Linked DNA regions of Homo sapiens: region 1 is linked to region 2. The links are contacts of gene promoters, found by promoter capture Hi-C in human tissues and cell types (Jung and others, 2019). All regions are on one chromosome and are shown on one strand. The core of a region is centred on a gene start or on the middle of the fragment in contact, and the rest is flanking DNA. Distances in the headings are between cores, read along the strand shown. Region 1 overlaps MAPK9 (mitogen-activated protein kinase 9). Region 2 holds the start of RASGEF1C (RasGEF domain family member 1C).

The links. Contacts are between HindIII fragments. The study calls those that stand out against the background at their distance.
Region 1: a contact is called between a fragment that was not itself captured here and the fragment with the promoter of RASGEF1C in region 2, in 1 of the 25 tissues and cell types used here (dorsolateral prefrontal cortex).

The regions. Positions count from the first base shown.
Region 1 is chr5:180,243,839-180,248,748 of GRCh38, forward strand. MAPK9 (mitogen-activated protein kinase 9) reads right to left here. Exons shown (of 12, transcript NM_002752.5): 7 at 3,601-3,672. Among named protein-coding and RNA genes, the nearest start is that of RASGEF1C, 37 kb to the left of the region's middle. The HindIII fragment of the contact is 5,555 bases long and covers 261-4,910 here.
Region 2 is chr5:180,206,449-180,211,085 of GRCh38, forward strand. It overlaps RASGEF1C (RasGEF domain family member 1C), which reads right to left and starts at 2,763. Exons shown (of 14, transcript NM_175062.4): 1 at 2,580-2,763. RefSeq lists an enhancer at 762-1,554 and a silencer at 2,679-2,898. The HindIII fragment of the contact is 4,624 bases long and covers 1-4,068 here.

The sequences.
Region 1 (4,910 bases), core at 1,788-4,287, 38 kb after region 2:
CTTCTGCCATATATACATATATAAATAAAGACAGAGTCTCGCTCTGTCGCCCAGGCTGGAGTGCAGTGGCATGATCTCGGCTGACTGCAACCTCCACCTCCCGGGCTCAAGTAATTCTCGTGCCTCAGCCTCCCAAGTAGCTGGGACTACAGGCACCTGCCATAACGGTCGGCTAATTTTTGTTATTTTTAGTAGAGATGGGGTTTCGCCATGTTGGCCAGGCTGGTCTGGAATTCCTGGCCTCAAGTGATCTGCCTGCCTCGGCCTCCCAAAGTGCTGGGATTATAGGTGTGAGCCACTGCGCCCAGCCCACCTTATACTTTTGATACCTCTTCTGCCTGCTCACTCCCACAGACTTCCCAGGATGCACCCACCCAGCATCTGTGTGCCATTTGCCACACAGCAACCATCTGGGCTCCCGGCTACACTAAGCCTGCTCAGCTCTAGACCCTAACCCCCCTGACTCAAGGACAAGCTCCCTCAACTCTTCCTTCTCCAACATCATCGACATTTTGCACTCTACCAATACATTCCACCACGTTGGTAAATGATGGTGTTTTCTCCTATGTTAACACAGTAGCTGCTTTCCTTTGGCCCTACCTATCGCTTTATTTCTTATTCCTATTTGCAGCAAAAACTTCCATAAAGAGCTGTCGGTCGGGCTCAGTGGCTCACACCTGTAATCCCGGCACTTTGGGAGGCCGAGGCAGGTGGATCACAAGGTCAGGTGTTCAAGACCAGCCTGGCCAAGACGGTGAAACCCTGGCCCTACTAAAAATACAAAAATTAGCCAGGCGTGGTGGCGGGCGCCTGTAATCCCAGCTACTCGGGAGGCTGAGGCAGAAGAATCGCTTGAACCCAGGAGGTAGAGGTTGCAGTGAGCTGAGATCGCATCGCTGCCCTCCAGCCTGGGCAATGGAGTGAGACTCTGTCTCAAAGGAAAAAAAAAAAAAAAAAAGGAAAGAAAAAAGAGCTGTCTACACTTGTGTCTCTAATTCCCAGCCTCTCATTTTCTCTCAAACATACTCCCATCAGGCTTTCTTCCCTCCACTCCATAAATGCTGTGCCCATCATGGCTGCCAGCAGCCATCACAAGGCCCAGGGGCCAATCCCCCGTCCTCATCTCCTCATGTGAATGAGCCTCCCTCAGTCACCACACTCTAGGAGGAGGGGTCACGTGAGTGCCTTCTCCATTTCCTTCCCTATTCCCTTTGTCCCTCCACCTCAAGGGGGCTAAGTCCCGGGTCCTGGTCTCTTCCTCCCCTGCAAGTGCTCGCTACCAGTCCTAGGCTTCAAGGCTACCGACAGACGGATGACACCCACTTTGATCTCTCTATCCCAGACCTTGCCCCTAAATTCCACTGTCTAACAGACATCTCCAAACCCTAGCAAGGCTCCTTGAAGGGTCCAGCTTCAAAGCAGAGTACAAGCCCATCTCCCCGGCCACACCCCTACCCGCCTGCTGGGGGCCTCCACCTCTCCTCTGGATGATGGCAGCCTCTGCTCTGTTCTCCTGCTCTGCCCTGCCCTTGACGATCCACCCTCAATTCAGCAGCTGGGAGGAGCCTCTTTGCATCTCAGTCAGACTAGGCACCCAGAAATGGGCAGGTGAGAGAAATATCTGCTGGGTTAATGATAAAGGACTAGAAATTAAACCAGTTGTGAGAGGAGACCCACAGATTCCCCGAGAGGACTCCACCCCAGCATCCTACAGGTGGGAGGGATGGGGGACAGATGAGAGGGACGGGGGAAGGGGAACAATAATTCCGACAAGCCCAGTGGACCCTGTTGTCTAACTCTCGTGAAGCTGCAGGCAGACCACAGGTCTATTTTACAGAAGGGGAAACCAAGGCTCAGAGAGGCCCTAAATTTCTCAAGGATGCATGGCTGCCAAGGGGAGGAGTCTGAGCTGGGGCCCGAGGTGGCCGGGCTAAAGCTTTCTCTTTCTCATAGACCACCGCAGGGACAGGAGTTCCTTTTCTACCCTGGGTCGCAAATTAAAGCAAATCTCTGAGACCCTCAGTCTGATTTCTGCAACTTTTTTCTATCTCCCAAATTTCAATCTAATATTTGAAAGAGTTGGCAAAATTTTCTTTAGAAAATGATGTTAAACTCTGTGTGGCTTTTGGGAATAACATTAGGTAACCTTATATATAACACTATTAATTACTGACATTAATGTTCATATGTATAGCAGGAATTTTAATTTTACTTACTAAAATGCACCAAAAAGTACTCACATTTTTCATTTTTGTACTTTTTGAAGAAAACATTTTGTAATAAAACAAGGAATGGCACAAAATGAGTAAGAATTGAGACAAACTGAACATTAAGTAGATATTTCTAAATTATTAGTCTTTTAATTTTTCAACTTTTCCCTTTTTAATTAAGTTTACTTGCAAAATAAAGACGTCCTTATTTATAGGTTGCAACAAGTGAATCTGAGATGAGGCTATGGAAACTGCTAGAAAATTTAGTAGAACAAATAAAATAACTTGACATATTATATAATCTATGATATAGAAAATGTAAAGAAAGGTAAATAAAATGAGAGAAATAAAAATATTTTCACTTTAAGTTTGCACTGTGAAGAATTTATAAGGAGACCACTTTGATAAAATTATTAAAATCTGAAATTATTTTCCTAAGATACATACAAAACACTGACTATGGAGCTTGATTTCCTTAAAAGCAACCATCAATCTGCCCAAGGATGGAGACCAATTTAAACTTTCATAACGAAAACAAAGTCAAAGACTAATGAAAAACTAAGTGGTTAAAACACAAATGAAAAAGGGAAGATGTGAAGAACCATGTTAGGGTAAAAAATACTGAGGATGGAAGAATGGCAAATGAGGAAAGAAGGCTATTGTAACAATTAGAGTAGTTATTCTCCTTTCTGCTGTATCTCTAACATGACTTGCTGACTACAGTATGAGTTTATCTCTTTCATTTTACATTTATTTTGACTTCCCCAGTGTGTCACAAAATAACCCACTAGACAGATTTTTAAAAAAAATTCTACAAAATGTCAGCACAGTAACAAACAAGAAAGTTTAACATATTGTTCCTCACAAAATTTTCATTTTAATCTCTTTCACTTAGGTCCTTTGTAATGTGCTTCAGTTCTTACTTTGGGGGAAAATATTTCAATGCATACCAGTAACTAACAAAATAGTACTTAATTAAAGCACACAAGCACACTAGCCTATTAAATTTAGATAGCATCTTTCCTAGTTAAATTAACGGAATAAACTAAATAATACAGTATTTTCATTTAAATATCAGAATATACTTATCAAAGAGTAAATAATTTCTTCTATGTGTCCAGCTATTTTTGGCAAAATTAAGAGCTAATATAATCGGTTTAACTGAACTCTAAGTCTCAAAGTCATCACAGGTAGTCAAGTTAAAAATAAAGAATGAAATTGAACCACTTGGCTTGTGACACTAATTAACAAATACAGTAAAGCCCCCCTTAGAACACAGTCTGGAGTGGATTTTACGACTTTGTCCTCGTGAGCGCTCGTGTAAGCAGGTGGTCATGCTGCCTGAGGCATTAAGAAAGCATGGCGGGGCCAAGGTCGCGGGGAAGGATACGGTCAGTGCCTTGGAATATCACACAACCTTTCACCAGCTCTCCCATGATGCAACCCACTGACCAGATATCAACTGAAAATAAAATGAAATGATAAAATTATGAAGTGCCATGAACAAAACAAAAGTGAGGAAAAGGAATTCTAACAGTGCACTAAACACACAAATATGGAAAAATAAATTGCTAGCTAAGGGTGACATTTTACACAATATGAATGATTGCTGACCTCTATTTTAGCCTTCGGTTTGTAGCAATCTGGGGTTTTAGTGCCAAAGAGTCCAATACTTTATAGCTTAAAACAAACAAACAAACAAACAAAAAACCAGAAACAAGAAGTGCCTGTGAACACAAAGCTTTTCAGGGCCACACGCCCACCCCAGCCTCCATGGCCAAGTACCGGGTCCCCTGTGAAGGATACAGTCTCTTCCCGGGAACAGGACTTTATGGAGGACCATTTCTGCCATGATGCACCCGACAGACCAGATGTCCACTACCAAACACCAGGGGATTAAAAACCAGCTAGAGTCCCCCATCTTTTTTCTTCAAACCCCCTCCCAGGACAAACCCGGTACACGTCACTAGCTTGCCGGCGGGAGCCTCTGTGCGTTGTTGATACCACACCTCCTGAGCGATCATTTTCTAGACTGCCCCGTCAGAAAGGCAGCAGCACTCACTGGCGGCACAGGCTGGCTGGCTTGCAGGACTGCAGGTGAGGCCCTGCTAGAGGGGCCCAGACTTCCACGGTGCCCACCCTCATCTGTGGGGCCTCAGACAGACAGCAGAGGCCTCTAAGTGCCCTGCTGGCGGGCCGAGGGGAGAAGTGAACAGGGGATCAAGTTTTCTCTCCCCTCCACAGGAAGCACATGAAGCTGTGCCCCTCAGGGTGGGAACACAAGCTACAACGCAGCAAGATGAACCTGTAGCAAAACTCATTTCAGATGACCCGGGCAAACTTTCAGTCTTTTTAAAAATAAGTAAGCGTGATTTCGTTATTTTCAACAAATTTGCTAAAAGCCAAGTTTCAAAGAGCTCTGATATTGCTAGAATAAGCTAAGTTTTGATGTAAAAAGACACCAATTTTACATGAAAACATGTGTTATTCTATTTACATCAAATTCAAAAAAACAATATGCAGACCAACAAATAAAGCTGATCCATGGTACTGGAGATCAGGAGATTGGCCAGCCTCGTGGGCTGCGAGGAGGGGCCATGGGGAGGCCAGAGCTGCTGCTGCTGTGGGTGTGCTCACCTCAGCTGAGCTGCACACTCAGGATTTGCACACTTGGCTATAGACAGCTTAACTCTGATTAAA
Region 2 (4,637 bases), core at 1,513-4,012:
CCAGCGAGGCTGTGGGGAAACAGAAGACACTGTGATACATCGGTGGTGGGAATGCAAAACGGTGCTACCTCTTGACAAGGAATTTGGGACTAGCTAACAAAATAAATCCACATTCACTCCTACTTCTAGAAGTGTGTTCTAAATATACACCTTTGCAAACATTAACAATATAGGTGCAAAGTTATCCATTACTCCATTATTTTAAATTTAAAAAGACTTGGAAAAAAACAAAATTGTTCATCCAGAGGACATAATTTGAATAAACAATAATAGTACAGCCACAGAACGAAATACTATGTGAGTGTAAAAAAGAATGAGCCAGGTCTCCATGAACTGGTAAGAAGTTACTTTCAGGACATACTTCTAACTGAAGAAAAACCAGGAGCTGTACGGCTAACTTTTGTGATAATGCTTAAATGACTTGTTTTGCAGAAAGAGACACAGGAAGGATAAACCAGAAAATATTTTAAATGGCTCCCAATGGTGTGGGAACAAGGAAGAAGATGCAGGGGTGGGACTGAGACCTTTAAGGATAGCTTTTTAATAGTTCTGACCTTTAAACCATGTGTTTTACGTATTCAAAAAATAAAATTACATCCTAAAGTCTAAAGGAAAAAAAGCTCCAAATTGAATGCAAGTAGAAACACACGAAGCTAACAGTGTGTCCGACTGATAACGTCACCACACAGCACTCTGCCTGCACACCCGTGGAAATCCCGATGCTGACCTAGCAGGTTTTGGTTGGCTTCGGTGTGGATGCAGTCATTCTGAAACTCTTTCGGGGTGCATTGTGGAGCTAAGTAAATGATGAAATATATTCATGTTTGGGGGAATAAGGTTCTCACTGCAGGAGAAAGGGAAAGGAAATATTAATTTTTAGTAAAAAAGGGGCCTTGGCTTGGTCCACTGACAAGGCCTAGAGGCGGCGAGTGCACGCCCCACACTAAGCCCGGGTCCCACGCAAGGAACCAAGGCCCCTTGGACAAATGGCTGACTCTGGATCTGGGTCCAGGTACAAGTGAGAGCTGGAACCACCTCAGAGACTGGCGGGGACATGGCAGGAGGGTGCAGACCCCGGCCTGAAAAGGGCCAGGTCCCGGGCAGGGCCCCACCTCTACCTGGTGGCCTGCGGGCTCCCCCTCGCCAGTCCCGCCCTGGGCTCCGCAGCCCGTCCCTCTCTCGCCTGCCCTCCCTCTCCTGCCCCGGCAGTGCGCCCACCCGCCGCCACGGGCAGCCTTTCGACGCCCAACCTGCAAACCGCCTGGGGGCTGCCCAGGACGTCCAGACCCTGTAGCGTCTCAGCTCCAGCTCCGCCCCCTCCTGCCCTCAGGGATCTCACCCGCGCTGTTCCCCCGGGCTACCCGTCCATCACAGGCTGGGCTCCCCGCTCAGGACAGCCTCCCTGACCAGACGAAGGCTCCGCCGCGCCCTGGTCTCCCTCTGCCCCAGTCACCCTACTGCATGTTCTTCCCAGCACGCATAAGATCTTGGCCATGTCCTTGCTTTTGCCTTTGATTTCTTGTTTGGTGTCCCCTCCCACACCAGCTAGTGAGCACTTACGGGGGCAGGCAGCAGGCGGCACACAGTAGGCGCTCAATGAATGTGGCCAGTGAGTGGACAACCCTAGCCCCCCTCCACCGGTCGCCTGCACAGTGGCTGCACTATGGCTGTTGGAGCCAGTCTTACCAGAGGTGGGACCCCAGCGTTGCCACTCCATGGTCCCGCCCCTCTCTAAACCTCAGTTACTCCACCTGCCTGGCAGGCAGAGCTTCCCAGGACTCTTCTCAGGCTCCCGGGGCTCAGAACTTCTGTCTCTCCCACAGCCCCAGGAGGCAGGAGATACGGGCCCGGAAGAGCTCCACCAGCACCCCAACTTCCCAGCTCTGTCTTTCCCACAGTTTCCCACGCCCACGCTGAGCATGGGGCGGCGTCGCCAGCACCCTTCCCCAAGTCCCCCCAAGCATCGCTTTCCCAATCTAAATACAATGAGTGGACCAGGTGGTCCCTTGATGCCGTCCGCTGTCACTGCGTGAGGGACACACCCAGGACTCCCAGCAGACCCCACTGTTCTCGCAGGCCCTCTGATAGTGGCGCTGGTCCTTTCCTCAAATCCGATCCCATCCTCAAGGGTGACAGCACCCTCTTCCCCCAGGCGCAAGGCCCTTTCCCTTCTGCACGTGCACCGGCAGGTCTGCTTTCCCGTCCCCATTTCATAGACGGGGAAACTGAGGTCCGGTGCGGGTGGAGGCTTTGGTCTAGGCTGGCTCTTCCTGCCACTCTAGCGGCTGAAAGAAGCTTGCTCCTCGCGCCCAGCAGGGGCTGGCGGCGCGCGGCAGAGCTGGGTCTCCCGCCAGGTGGCCGGGGGTGTGCCCTCAGGGTACCCTACCCGCTACCCCCGCGCCTCCAGTCCCGGCGGCCGCGCGGACCCCGCCCCTGCTGACCCCGGCGCACGCTCCCGCGCCGCGCGCAGCCTCCCGCCTCCCGCCGACCCCGCCGCGCCGCCGGCAGCCCTCCCCAGCCCCCGCGAGCCCGCGCCCTTGCCCGCACCGCCAGGTGTCCCTCGGCCGCGCACCACTCACCGGCTCCCGGCGCGCCGGAACTCCGGGCCCGGCCCATGGGCAGCTCCCGGTGCGAGCCTCGGCGCCGCGGACCGGGGCGCCGCCCGCCGCCGCCGCCGCCGCCGCCGCCGCCGCCGCCGCCGCCCGACCGCCCGGCTCCCAGCGCAGCCCGCACGAGCGCCTGGCGGCGGCCCCGGAGCAACGCGGCGCTGCGCCCCCTCGTGGCACTCAGGCAGCGCGGAGCGGGCGGGGCGCGGGGGTGGAGCTGCGGGAGCCCGCGGGCGGCGCTGCACACCAGGGCCCTCCGTGCCCCGGCCGCGGAGCCAAGCGTCCCGCCCTGCGTTCAGGCCTCCGCGGCGGCTGGCCCCCCGCGCCAGGACCACCCGCTCGGGCCGTCAGACGCTGCCCTCCCGCGCGCGGACCCTGGCGGACTCTGCGCCCCAGCTGCCCCAGCCTACACCTCACCTGGTGGGCCTCTGGCGCCCCAAAACCCAGTTCACCCTCTCTCCTCAAGACTGGGCCCGGCCCGGTTCTCTGGACTGGCCACCTAGGTTGTCTGTGTCCCCCAATGGGACATCCCTGGGTGGACACCCCCCCTCCCCAACCTTCTCGGCGCTCTCCCGTGGCCCCCAGGGAGGGTGGACACCACTTTGAAGACACCGGGGTTCTGGGAGGATGGCGATGCATGATTTCACTTTTAGAAAGGGAGAGGGGCTCTAACAGGATCCAGTGGCCTCCTTGAACTGGGTCTTCAGTGAAAAGTTCCCTGGTTGGTCCCAGCATAGAGGTCAGGACACCTGTCCTCCTGTGTCCGCAGTTTGTCCCTTCCGCTGGGTTCCTGGTCTGGCTGACTTCAAGAATGAGCCAGGGACCTTGGCAGTGAGTGTTACAGCTCTTAAAGGTGGTGCGACGGTGAAACCCTGTCTGTACTAAAAATACAAAAAAATTAGCCAGGTTTGGTGGTGGGCGCTTGTGGTCCCAGCTATTCGGGAGGCTGAGGCAGGAGAAGGGCGTGAACCCGGGGAGGTGGAGCTTGCAGTGAGCAGAGATTGCACCACTGCACTGTAGCCTGGGCGACAGAGCAAGACTCCATCTCAAAAAAAAAAAAAAAGAAAAGAAAAGAAAAAGGTGGTGCAGACCCAAAGAGTGCGTAGCAGCAAAATGTCTTGTGAAGAGCAAGAGAACAAAGCTTCCACAGCAGGGAAAAAGACCACAGCCGGTCGCCGCTGTTGCTGGCTGGCGAGGGGTGGGCGGGCAGCTTTTATTCCCTTATTTGTCCCCACCCATGTCCTGCTGATTGGTCCGTTTCACGGAGTGCTGATTGGTGCGTTTTTACAGAGTGCTGATTGGTGCATTTACAATCCTCTAGCTAGCCAGAAAAGTTCTCCAAGTCCCCACCCGACACGGAAGTTCCAGCTGCCTTCACCTCACTCTGCTTTAGTCAGGACCTGCCTGATGAGATGTGGCCCAAAACTCAACCCAACCAGCTTGAGCAAAAAGCTGGTTTGTGGATCATAAAAAGCCAAGGTTTACTGCTTAGAGGAATGGCTAGATCCAGGTACTTAACCTATGTGCATAGAAACTGGCCTCCCCTATCTCCCAGTCTTTCTGTGGCAGAATGGCCCTGGGTTGACACCTCAGAGAGGGCACAGCTGCCTGATAGTTGCAAGGACAGCCTGCGGCTGCCACACACAGGCTCCGAGGAGCTGAGCTCAGGCCATTTCCAAAGACCTAGGGAGCAGGAATAGCAGGCCTGGGTGTCGTCTCACTAGAGCTGAGGCAGAGTTAGTCCTGTGTCAGCTTTGAGGATGGAGTAAGGTGCTGTTCCAAGCTTCCGTGAAGGCTGTTCCTGGAAGAATGGACAGGTTAAGAACAACAGTCCAGCCCATTTCTTGAACAGTTAGGGAAACTGAGTCCTGGAGAGAGCAGGCAGCTGCCTAGGGCATACAGATGTATTAGAATGAATGTGGGCCAGGTAGCTAGGCAGGGAGACAGCAGGGCTGGGGCCAGGGCCAGGGCCAGAGGCTGGCCCTAGGGAGGGTGACATCTGAGACCAAGGGTCAGGTGTGGGGAAAGGGA